4 separate regions of the Homo sapiens genome follow, and all the other regions are linked to region 4. The links are contacts of gene promoters, found by promoter capture Hi-C in human tissues and cell types (Jung and others, 2019). All regions are on one chromosome and are shown on one strand. Each heading gives the region's core, a stretch centred on a gene start or on the middle of the fragment in contact. The rest is flanking DNA. Distances are from core to core; before and after follow the strand shown. Region 1 overlaps LOC124902787 (a long non-coding RNA gene). Region 2 has its middle 62 kb from the start of LINC02098. Region 3 has its middle 43 kb from the start of LINC02098. Region 4 holds the start of KCNJ1 (potassium inwardly rectifying channel subfamily J member 1).

Region 1 (2,700 bases), core at 24-2,523, 570 kb before region 4:
ATGCTTCTAGGAAGCATTTGGAGAAAGATAACAGCAGGTAAAATGCCAGTTAGAGGGTCCACTTATAAAGAAGAAGTCACAATTTTGATGTTTTCACCCAGCTTTTCTGTGGTCTCTTTTTAAAAAAATAAAAATACATACTTTTGATAACTTACTTTCTCTTAAGTGATAAAGTTCATGTAACTCTTGATGAGGTAAAATATATCCTAGGATAATATTATTCTAACCTGATTCTAAATCGTATGTTTTTTAAAAAAAATGTTGTAGTGTTAGTCAACTTTGGAGATCTAATCAATATAGACAGCTCTGAGGAGTAGATCACTTCCCCTACATTTTTCTTATTTTTTTTAAGAGCAAGTGTTCTTAAACTATTAGGAAGGTGTGTGTCATGTCATTTTTCATCTGTAGCCACATTTCCTTTGAAATTAAAAGGAGATAAAAGTCCCATCTGTATACTGCTAGCAGAAAAAAATTGCCATGAACTTTCCCCAAAGACATTATGAAAAGCCTTAACAACAAGCATACGTGAGAAAACAGCACACAAAAACCTTGGAGTCAACCTAAATGTCCATTAATACATAATATGTATATAAATAAATACAATAAAATAATATATAGCTGTGAAAAATAGAGAATAGTTAAATAACATAGAAACATGGCCATACTGCACTGTTGAGTGAAATAGCAACTTGCAAAGCAACAATATGTTAGCCCAGTTTATAAAAACAAAAATACATGTGTGTATATTTGTGTGATATGTGTTGTGATACGTGTAGAGAAGGACAAACTCAAAAGATTCATACAAAGCATACCAAGACAGTTTTTTCTTGGTTGTAAGACTGTATGATTTTCAGGCTCTTTTTTGTTTTGCATTAAATTTTGACTATAAAATGTAAAATAAATCCTTGAAAATCAATATTTTAAATTTTATTTCGCAGTACTTGCACTTCACTGTAATTCTTGGTGTTGCTATAAAGCTGGTTATATTTACTACTATAATTGATTCTCAACATTCTGTCCCATATTCAATTCTATGTAATGATTCTTATTCTGACCAGGCCTTTTAATAAAGATGGTTGCCATCTGGCCAGTTGTATCATTTAAGTTTTATCTTCTGCTGCTGATCATCATTAAGCTTTAAAAACCAATACTTTCATTAATATTTATACTTTTTTAAATTTTTTCAAGGTACAATAAATCATTAATTAGCCCATCTTCACGGTATGTTTTCCCATTTCCTGGGCTATGTGATTTCAGTCTAGCTGCAGTGTCTTCAAACTGCACCTCCTAAAAGCAACAGAATGATTCAACTGAACAACTATTCAACTATTACTTGACTATCCACAGGTGCAAAACATGACACCAGGAAGAGTGGGAACGACACCAATAAACAAAAATGAGCCCCTGATGTCAAGGAGCTCAGTCTAGGGAGCAAGAAAAACACAGGCATAAGTAATCCCAATGCAATGATTTGAAAAGCAGTAGACAAGCACTCATTCCAATTCCTAAATGCATTCTGCACCTCTGCCAACTTCTTACAAAATGCCCATTTGCTTTATTCTTATTGACATATTACAGATTGGAAATGTCTCAGAAAGGGAAAGCATGATACTGTACATCTTCAATAGACATAAATGCTCAGAAAGCAGGGACCTGCTTATATTTTCCTATGATGGTGACTTATTAACTAAAATCCAACCCACCCGTTTGGGAACCAAATTAGATAAGTTATCTCTTTGTGTCATCCCAGTTCACTGGCTCACCACTCTCTGGACATATAAACACTCTGTTTTATTTCGCAGATGAGGAAATTAGAAGACGGGGGAAACTGCAGCTTGTCCTTTTCTCCTCAAAAGCCCATTTCAAAGTCCACATTCGATTGCGGGATTACGCTTAAGAGGTGGGCTTCAGATCTTCAGTTACTTATCCAGCTGCAGGATGCCCTGCACTCCAGTAGGTGTTTAGAGTTTGAGACTGGACAAGTGAAGAGTCTCAAGGCAGAGCTGACTCCACCTACCGTTACACTGTTGAGCAGATGAGAAAACCAGGCTTAATGTTTGTTACCAGTGTCTCTTCCTATTTCTTACTGTGTGACAATGATCGGTATCTGGTTGCCTTAGAGACTGTCAGACCTGGCATCTCTGCGTATCTGCAGAACACTCAGTGGTTTCTGAAAACAGGTGTGGCCTGGTTGAGTGTAGCATAGCCACAAGTTTTTTTTTTTTTTTCTTTTTTTTTTTTGTTTAGGTTGCTTTGACTCTGGTGGCTTTTACCAACTTTCCAAATGTCACTCCCTCTACCTCAGGGGCTATTTGTCAAAGTTATTGGTAAACTAGTTTCTTACCTGTTTTTTCTCTTTATTTTAAGAGATAAAATACTAGATAGAAAAAAAAAGCTTACTGAAGCAAAAACTGGTTTTAAGTGACAATTGTGTGTTCGTTGTGGCTTGCACTTTGACAATTAGTTCTGGTCCTCTTGCTGATGGTGTGGCTTTTGAGGTAAATTGCATGAAGAAAACCAGTTCTCATTTGGTAAGCTCCAGTGGGTTGCAGAGTTGAGGGAGCTGATACTATCACCCACCACCATATATTTGGCCTTACTGGTATAGAGCTAATGACCAGTAAAGGTATTGAAAGTACATGGGTCAGATTAAGTAGGAAAAATAGACCCTATTCAGCTATGAACATTTCTCCAAAAAAA
Region 2 (2,700 bases), core at 138-2,637, 600 kb before region 4:
TCCAGTGTTAGATATGATGTTAGCTGTGGGTTTCTCGTAGATAGCCTTTATCAGATTGAGTCCTTCTATTCTTATTTATTGTTTTTATTAGGAAAGAGTTTTGAATTTTGTCAACTTTTTTTGCGTCTATTAAAATGATTATGTGATTTTAAAATATTGATAATATGTATCACATTAATTATTTTCAGATGTTAAGACTAAATCCCACTTGGTCACATGTGTAATTCTTTTTATATGACACTGGATTCAGTTTGTGAGTATTTTGCTGAGGTTGTGTGACTCTATATTCATGAGTCATTGTTCTGTAGTTTTCTTGTGATATCTTTGGTTTTGATTAATAGAATGAGTTGGGAAGTGTTCTCTCTGCTAATTTTTGAAAACAGAACTGGTATGAATTCTATTTTTTAAATTTTGGGTAGAATTTAATGGTCAATCTATCTGGGTCAGGGCTTTATGTTGTGGATAGTTTTGTTTTTAATACTTTAATCTCTTCACTTATTATAGGTTTATTCAGATTGTGATTTCTCCACAAGTCAATTTTGGTGGTCCATAACTTCCAAGGAATGTGTCCATTTTATCTAATTCAGGGGTTCCCAACCCTGGACCACACAGCAGGAGATGAGTGGAGGGCAAGGGAGCATTACTGCCTGAGCTCCTCTCCTGTCAGATCAGCGGTGGCATTAGATTCTCACAGGAGTGGATCCCTAATGTGAACTGTGCATGGGAGGGATCTAGGTTGCATGCTTCTTATGAGAATCTAACTAATGCCTGATGGTCTGAGGTGGAACAGTTTCATCCCAAAACCATACCCCACCCCCAATCTGTGGAAAAATTGTCTTCCATGAAACCAGTCCCTGATGCCAAAAAGGTTAGGGACTGCTAATCTAATTTATTTAACATGTGGTGTACAAGAGTTCTTAGTATTTCTTCATAATTCTTTTTGTGTTTCTAAGCTTAGTAGTTTGTCTCCTTTCATTGCTAGTTCTAGTAATTTGTGTCTTCTCTCTCTCTGTCTCTCTTCTTGGTCAATCTAGCTAACGTTTTGTTAATTTTATTGAGCTTTTCAAAAACCATTCCTTGGTGCCACTAAATTTCTCTATTGTTCTCCTGTTTTCTTTTTCATTAATTTCTGCTGTAATCTTTATTATTTTCTTCTTTCTGTTTGCATTCTGATTAGTGTGCTCTTCTATGTTTAGTGTATTAATATGAAAGGTTAGATTATTGAGGTCTTTCTTCTTTCTTAATGAAGTTTTCAAAATAATTGAAGAACACTTGTAACTTAATTGAAAGAGAACACCAAGTACTCATTAAATGAATTTTTAAAAAATAATACCCAAACAAATGTATACCTCATCATGAGATCTGCGTACACCAGAGATAAAGAGAAGTTCTAACATCTTACAGAAAGAGGAAATAAAGAACAAAAACACAATGTGAGAATCATAAATAAAAATTTAATTATATTTCTTAATAGTGTTACTGGAAGCTAAAAGGTATTAGAACAAGGCCTTCAAAATTCTGAAGAAATTGATTTTTAGTCTAAAAAATTCTATAATCACAAACCTAACATATCTAACAGAAGAAAAGCAATGTCTTCACATATTAAAAAAATCTAAAAACAAATTAAAGGAAAAAATACAGAAAGCCTAACTTCTAATCCTACATTTCCGGAAAAGTTGCTGTAAATATGGCTACAGCATAGTAGGGAGACTGTGTGTATATGGGGGCAGGAGTATATGGGATATCTCTGTGCCTTTCTCTCAATTTTGCTGTAAACCTAAACCTGTTCTAAAAATCATCTTAAAACTTTGCTTAGGAAAAGTGACTTAGCCTTTATACATTCCACTGGAAGGTTAAAAATCCATCCTAGTAAAAAGAATAAACCACTATAGTTTAAAGGGCTCATATCCTAGTAGAAATATTTATGCTCCAACATGCCTCAGATCTTGCTAGTAAGAAAAGTTTGAAGCACCACAAAGTTGACCTTCTTATTAAGGTCCTTAGAAGAGATAAGCTGATGCACAAACACCTTTTAGTCTTTGTCTTTGTCAGAATAAACTTCCTTCCTAGACAGATGGCAGATCGCAAAATGTCAGGTTAGCTTTGAGGCCAGTTAATTCAGATGGTGTCAACATAAATAGCTGTTGACTTGTTGTGGAAAACCAAACTCCAAAACAAGACCCAAATATTTTATTATATGCAATTTTGCTTTCAGATCATATTTCCTGTGTTATTCCTGCACCCTGTTTTTTTTGTTATTACTACCAATATTTGCATGTAAACAGGATCTCTGTTGCTTAGCAATTCATTACTTCTGTTTTTTTCTTCTCAGCTGAAATTGTCTTATTTTTGTAGTAGAGAAGAGAACTGTCTGATTTCTCTCCCATCTACAAAGTTTATCCCATTTTGAAATCTGAACATAAAGTTTGTTTGTAGAACAAGTCACTCAAATGTTCTTCAGACTTTTGTTTGTATTTCAATTCTCACTGGAAAGGGATTGAAAATATCATTGCTTTTGACTACTGCTGCTTTCTGCCAATTTTATGGTTACTCTATACCTACTTCAGTCAGTGAAGATCCCTGAAAGGGCATTCATTAAAATATGTTTAATGATTGGGAAAAATTAGAAGAAAACAGATTCCATGAATAGGGGCTAGATAAAGATGTGTATTGAATCCATGATACAAATGTCCTATGGAA
Region 3 (2,700 bases), core at 137-2,636, 610 kb before region 4:
CACTAATTGGTTGGAGGAGGGAGTGACTGTTTTCAATCAACTCTGCGTTAACTTGAACTTGTCCCTGCATCGAAACATAATGGGGAGGGTATTTTTTCTCAAAAGATTTATCGTAACTAATTAATCATCATGACCATAAAAATCTGTTCATTTTTGTGAGGCATAGAAATTATGTGAAATCTGTCCAATAATGTTCATAAGAGTAACACTGAATGAACGCTGATTAGGCACCAGGCATCCTTCTGAGTACTTTGTAGAGATTAATTTATAAATTATCACAACAGTTATTCTGTGTGATTTAATATTATTATCCCTATTTATAGATAAGGTAACAGAAGTACAGAGAATTTAACTATCTTGTGCAAGACGCTTAAGAAATGAAAGGAGTAAACTATGAATCTGCAATTTGGAATGCAGGCAAATCAGGTCAGGGCCTGCTATTTAAATCCTGCTGTAGAGGACTGCATTTTTACATTGACCATAGAAATGTATTAGACAGAGGAGCATCTAGAAACACTAGAAATCCTGCAAATCCACAAGGTCTAGCTCTCAGCCCTACGAGGAAGGCCCCTCTCCAGGTTTGTTCCTCCCTTGGGTATTGATATTGTTTGGCTGTGTCCCCACCCAAATCTCATCTTGAATTATAGCTCCCATAATTCCCACTTGTGGAAGGTACCCAGCGGGAATTAACTGAATCATGGGGGCAGGTCTTTACCATGCTGTTCTCATGATAGTGAATAAGTTTCACAAGATCCAATGGTTTTTTTAAAGAGGAGTCTGCCCATACAAGCTCTCTTCTCTTGTCTGCTGCCATGTGTGATGCGCCTTTCACCTTCTGCCATGATTGTGAGGCCTCCCCAGCCACTTGGAGCTGTAAGTCCATTAAACTTCTTTCTTTTGTAAATTGCCCAGTCTTGGGTATGTCTTTATCAGCAACATGAAAATGAACTAATACAGGTACACTGCCTCAGTCCTATAGGCAGTAGCTTCTCCCTGGAGCTACTATTTCTGTGTTCTTTAGCCTCTCTTTTCCCTGTACTAGTCAATCCCTTGTCACTCCAGTCTCCTGTTAATCCCCTATTTGTATATATTAAACTGTTACTGTTCAAATCCCTCATGCTTCCTGCCTCCCCAGAGGAATGGCCCCGAAACTTGCTCAGTGCCTCCTGTCCTACTTTTCCCTTTGCATCCGCTTCAGCTGCTCTTGACTCCTCGCTGTTCCTCTGGTCTTCCATCTGTGTTCCCACCTCAGAGCTTTTGTACTTGCCCTTCCCTGGAAAGACTCCACACACACACACACACACACACACACACACACACACCTCTTAGATTTGATAAGTGAATGTATTGAATTCACAGGATACAAAATAAACTGACAAAACTCAGTAGCGTTTCTGCACACCAAAAATGATCAAGCTGAGAAGCAAATCAAGAGGCAATATCATTTACAATAGCTACAAAAACAAAACAAAATAAAATAAAATACCTAGGAATATATTTAATTAAGGAAGTGAAAGACCTTTGATGGAAGAAATTGTACATGGCACAAAAAATAGAAAGCACTCCATGTTCATAAATTATTCAAATGACCAGACTGCTCAAAGCAATCTATAGATTCAATGCAATCCTTATCAAAATACCAACGTTATTTTTTTACAGAATTAGAAAAAACAATCCTAAAATTCACATGAAACCAAAAAAGAGCCCAAATACCCAATGAAATCCTAAGCAAAAGAACAAAGCTGAAGGTATCACATTACCTGACTTCAAATTATAATACAGGGCGATGTATGGCACTGGTGTAAAATTGGACACATAAATCAATGAAACCAAACAGAGAAACCAGAAATTAAGCCATATCTCTATAGCCAACTGATCTTTGACAAAGTTGACAAGAACATACAGTAGGGAGAGGATACCCTTCTCAATAAATAATTCTGGGAAAATTGGAAAATTGGATATCCATATACAGAAGAACGAAACTGGACCCCTATCTCTCACTATATACAATAATCAACTCAAGATGGATAAAAGACTTAAATGTAAGAACTGAAACTACAATAATACTAAAAGAAAACCTAGGAAAAAATACTTTGGACATTGGTGTAAGCCAGGGGTGTACAATCTTTTGGCTTTCCTGGGTCACACTGGAGAAGAAGAATTGTCTTGGGCCACACGTAAAATGTAATAACACTAACAACAGCTGATGAGCTCATAAAAGTCACTAATAAATAATAATGTTTTAAGAAAGTTTAAGAATTTGTGTTGGGTCACATTCAAAGCCGACCTGGGCTGCATGTGGCTCATGGGCTACAGGTTGAACAAGGTTGGTCTAGGCAAAGAATTCATGACTAGGACTTCAAACACACAGGCAACAAAAACAAAAATAAACAAATAGGATTTAATTAATTAGAAAGCTTCTGCATAGCAAAAGTAATAATTAACAAGCTGAATAGGCAACCTACACAACAAAATAAAATATTTGTAAACTATGCATCTGACTGGGGACTAATATCCAGAATTTACAAGGAATTCAAACAACTCAAAAACAAACAAACAAAAACCAGAAACAATTTTATTAAAAAGTGGGCAAAGGGCATGAATAGACATTTTTAAAAAGAAGACATAGATGTCCAACAGGTATATGAAAAATGTTCAACATTGCTAATCATCAGCAAAATGCTAATCAAAACCACAATG
Region 4 (2,700 bases), core at 43-2,542:
CCTTCATGACTTGAGTATAAAAAAATGCTTTTCTGATGGCCCATACGTTCCCAGATATCTCCACCCCATCATGCTCTTAAAAGCTGAAGCTGACTTAGTGAGAATCCATTTACACTAAACAGTGTAGAGTAAGACAACACAAGCCAAGCCCATGACTGAAGGGAGCCCACAAAGACTGGGCAGCTCCTCCAATGTAACCGAAGATTCAACCAAAGATTCTAACTGCCCTCCAGCCCCAGGGCTACGGAATGGCCCAGGGAAGGCAGCGTGCAGCTCGCAACTAATAATCCAGGTACAACCAGCAGATCAAAAGCATCCAGTGAGTGGCTCTGCCAAGTCCCTGTCCATAAAAGGTCCATAGCACAATCACTATGTTTTGCTCCATTTTGTAAGCCCAGCTAAAAGGAGAAAAATTCAATCATTTTTCCTAAAGATTGCTGGTTGCGAAAGACCAACTCCTTTTAAGCGTCTATGCACCAAATCTGTAAGATACAGATATTGGGAGAAGGGGCTCCATACCTGTTCAGAGCAGAGATAAACAGTTGGCATTCACTGGTATAGAGCAATTGTCACAACAGTCATTAGGAAGCTGAACAAATGTTGAGAAATCCAAATGTATCCATTCAGAATGGTGCAAAATTCCTATAAAGTCCTACATCAGAAAATGAAAGAAAGACATTTGGGTGAAGGTAATCAAAATGTCTGGCTAACTCTTGCCTTTTCCTGATATATGTTTTCCATAATAGACCCCACTAGCACCTTGATCCTCTACCTTAAAGATGGAAACGGCTTGGCAGAGGTTGTGTTACTAGGCAAGGTCTTGCTACAATTGAAAGGATGCCACCAGAGATGAAAACCCTACATACATCTCTGCCACCAAAAGAAGACTTTGGAATCAGGCATGATGCAACCAAAGATTCTTACTGCCCTCCAGCCCCAGGGCTGCGGAGTGACCCAGGGAAGGCAAGATGCAGCACACAGCTAATAATCCACATGTAACCAGCACACCAAAAGCATCCAGTGAGTGAGTTAAAACCATGCTTCTATCTATCCCCCAGGAGTGGACAGACAAGTCTGCCTAGATTTGAGGCGGGGAAAAGAGGTCTAAATTTTCACAAGAATTAACTTCTTTTTCCTACAAAGAGACAATGAGGTGTTTCTCCTCTTACCTCATGGATTGCTGGAGTAAATGTAGAAACAAAAACTCATTTTCTTGGTCTCCAAGAAAGCAACCAGATTCTCGATGTGAGCAAGTCCCTGCACCTTTGATGCAAGAGTTTGGATATGCTAGGTGAGGGTACCCGAGGCCCTGTTGATTTTATGAGTCTGTGGGCCAGCTCAGACCGGCTGCCAACTCATCTGTATGCAACAGTTCTCAAAGAACATAGTTTACTTTATAACCGGATCCAACAAGAGTAGGCGTGGCAGTTAAGTGAGTGAGATACCAAAGGTGTTGAGCTACCAAGGCTAACTAAGAAGGATTTGTTTATGGAACCCTGGCTTGGAACCAGAAGGCCGGTATGCTCATGTCGATGTGTCTAAGTCAAAGGCATGAAGTTGAACACGTGCGCACATGAGGCTGGATGTTACAGGGCAGGGAAGTAGGGGTCCCCAAGGAGCCCCTCACAAATGTCTCCTGTCCTGTGAATCACTCAGTGGCCCTAGAACAGCAGTCCCCAACCTTTTTGGCACCAGGGACCAGTTTCATGGGAGACATTTTTTCCATGGACCAGGGAGGTGGTGGGGGAGGATGGTTTCGAGATGATTCAAACACATGACATTTATTGTGAACTTTGTTTCTACTGTGTTTACTTATAATAATTACTTTACTTCTATTATATTCTATTATATTCCTTATTTCATTATATATTATATTCTAATATATAATGAAATAATATTCTATTACATTATATAATATTCTATTCTATTCTATAATATTATAGAATGAAATAATGAATATGGGATGAAATAATGAAATATTCTATTCTATTATAGAAGGAAATAATATTCTATTCTATTCTATGAAATAATATTCTATTATATTCCTTATTTCATTATGTATTATATTCTAATATATAATATAATATATATTATGTATTATATTCTAATATATTATATAACATATATTATGTATTATATTCTAATATACTCTATAACATATATTCTGTATTATATTCTAATATATTATATAACATATATTCTGTATTATATTCTAATATATTATATAACATATATTCTGTATTATATTCTAATATATAATATATATTCTGTATTATATTCTAATATATAATATATATTATGTATTATATTCTAATATATAATATATATTCTGTATTATATTCTAATATATAATATAATATATATTATGTATTATATTCTAATATATTATATAACATATATTACGTATTATATTCTAATATGTTATATAATATATATTACGTATTATATTCTAATATATTATATAACATATATTACGTATTATATTCTAATATATTATATAACATATATTACGTATTATATTCTAATATATTATATAACATATATTACGTATTATATTCTAATATATTATATAACATATATTACGTATTATATTCTAAATATTATATAACATATATTACATATTATATTCTAAATATTATATAACATATATTACGTATTATATTCTAATATATCATATAATATATATTATGTATTATATTC

The links. Contacts are between HindIII fragments. The study calls those that stand out against the background at their distance.
Region 1: a contact is called between a fragment that was not itself captured here and the fragment with the promoter of KCNJ1 in region 4, in 1 of the 25 tissues and cell types used here (spleen).
Region 2: a fragment that was not itself captured here is called in contact with the fragment with the promoter of KCNJ1 in region 4 in 1 of the 25 tissues and cell types used here (heart left ventricle).
Region 3: a contact is called between a fragment that was not itself captured here and the fragment with the promoter of KCNJ1 in region 4, in 1 of the 25 tissues and cell types used here (lymphoblastoid cells).

What each region holds. Positions count from the first base shown.
Region 1 is chr11:128,300,557-128,303,256 of GRCh38, forward strand. LOC124902787 (a long non-coding RNA gene) reads right to left here. Exons shown (of 2, transcript XR_007062946.1): 2 at 1,771-2,700. Among named protein-coding and RNA genes, the nearest start is that of LINC02098, 93 kb to the left of the region's middle. RefSeq lists a silencer at 2,083-2,172. The HindIII fragment of the contact is 4,008 bases long and covers 1-2,700 here.
Region 2 is chr11:128,269,401-128,272,100 of GRCh38, forward strand. No RefSeq gene overlaps it. Among named protein-coding and RNA genes, the nearest start is that of LINC02098, 62 kb to the left of the region's middle. The HindIII fragment of the contact is 3,763 bases long and covers 1-2,700 here.
Region 3 is chr11:128,250,915-128,253,614 of GRCh38, forward strand. No RefSeq gene overlaps it. Among named protein-coding and RNA genes, the nearest start is that of LINC02098, 43 kb to the left of the region's middle. The HindIII fragment of the contact is 3,615 bases long and covers 1-2,700 here.
Region 4 is chr11:128,866,004-128,868,703 of GRCh38, forward strand. It overlaps KCNJ1 (potassium inwardly rectifying channel subfamily J member 1), which reads right to left and starts at 1,293. Exons shown (of 3, transcript NM_153766.3): 1 at 1,170-1,293. It overlaps LOC107984409 (a long non-coding RNA gene), which reads left to right. Exons shown (of 3, transcript XR_001748442.2): 3 at 747-1,176. The HindIII fragment of the contact is 8,499 bases long and covers 1-2,700 here.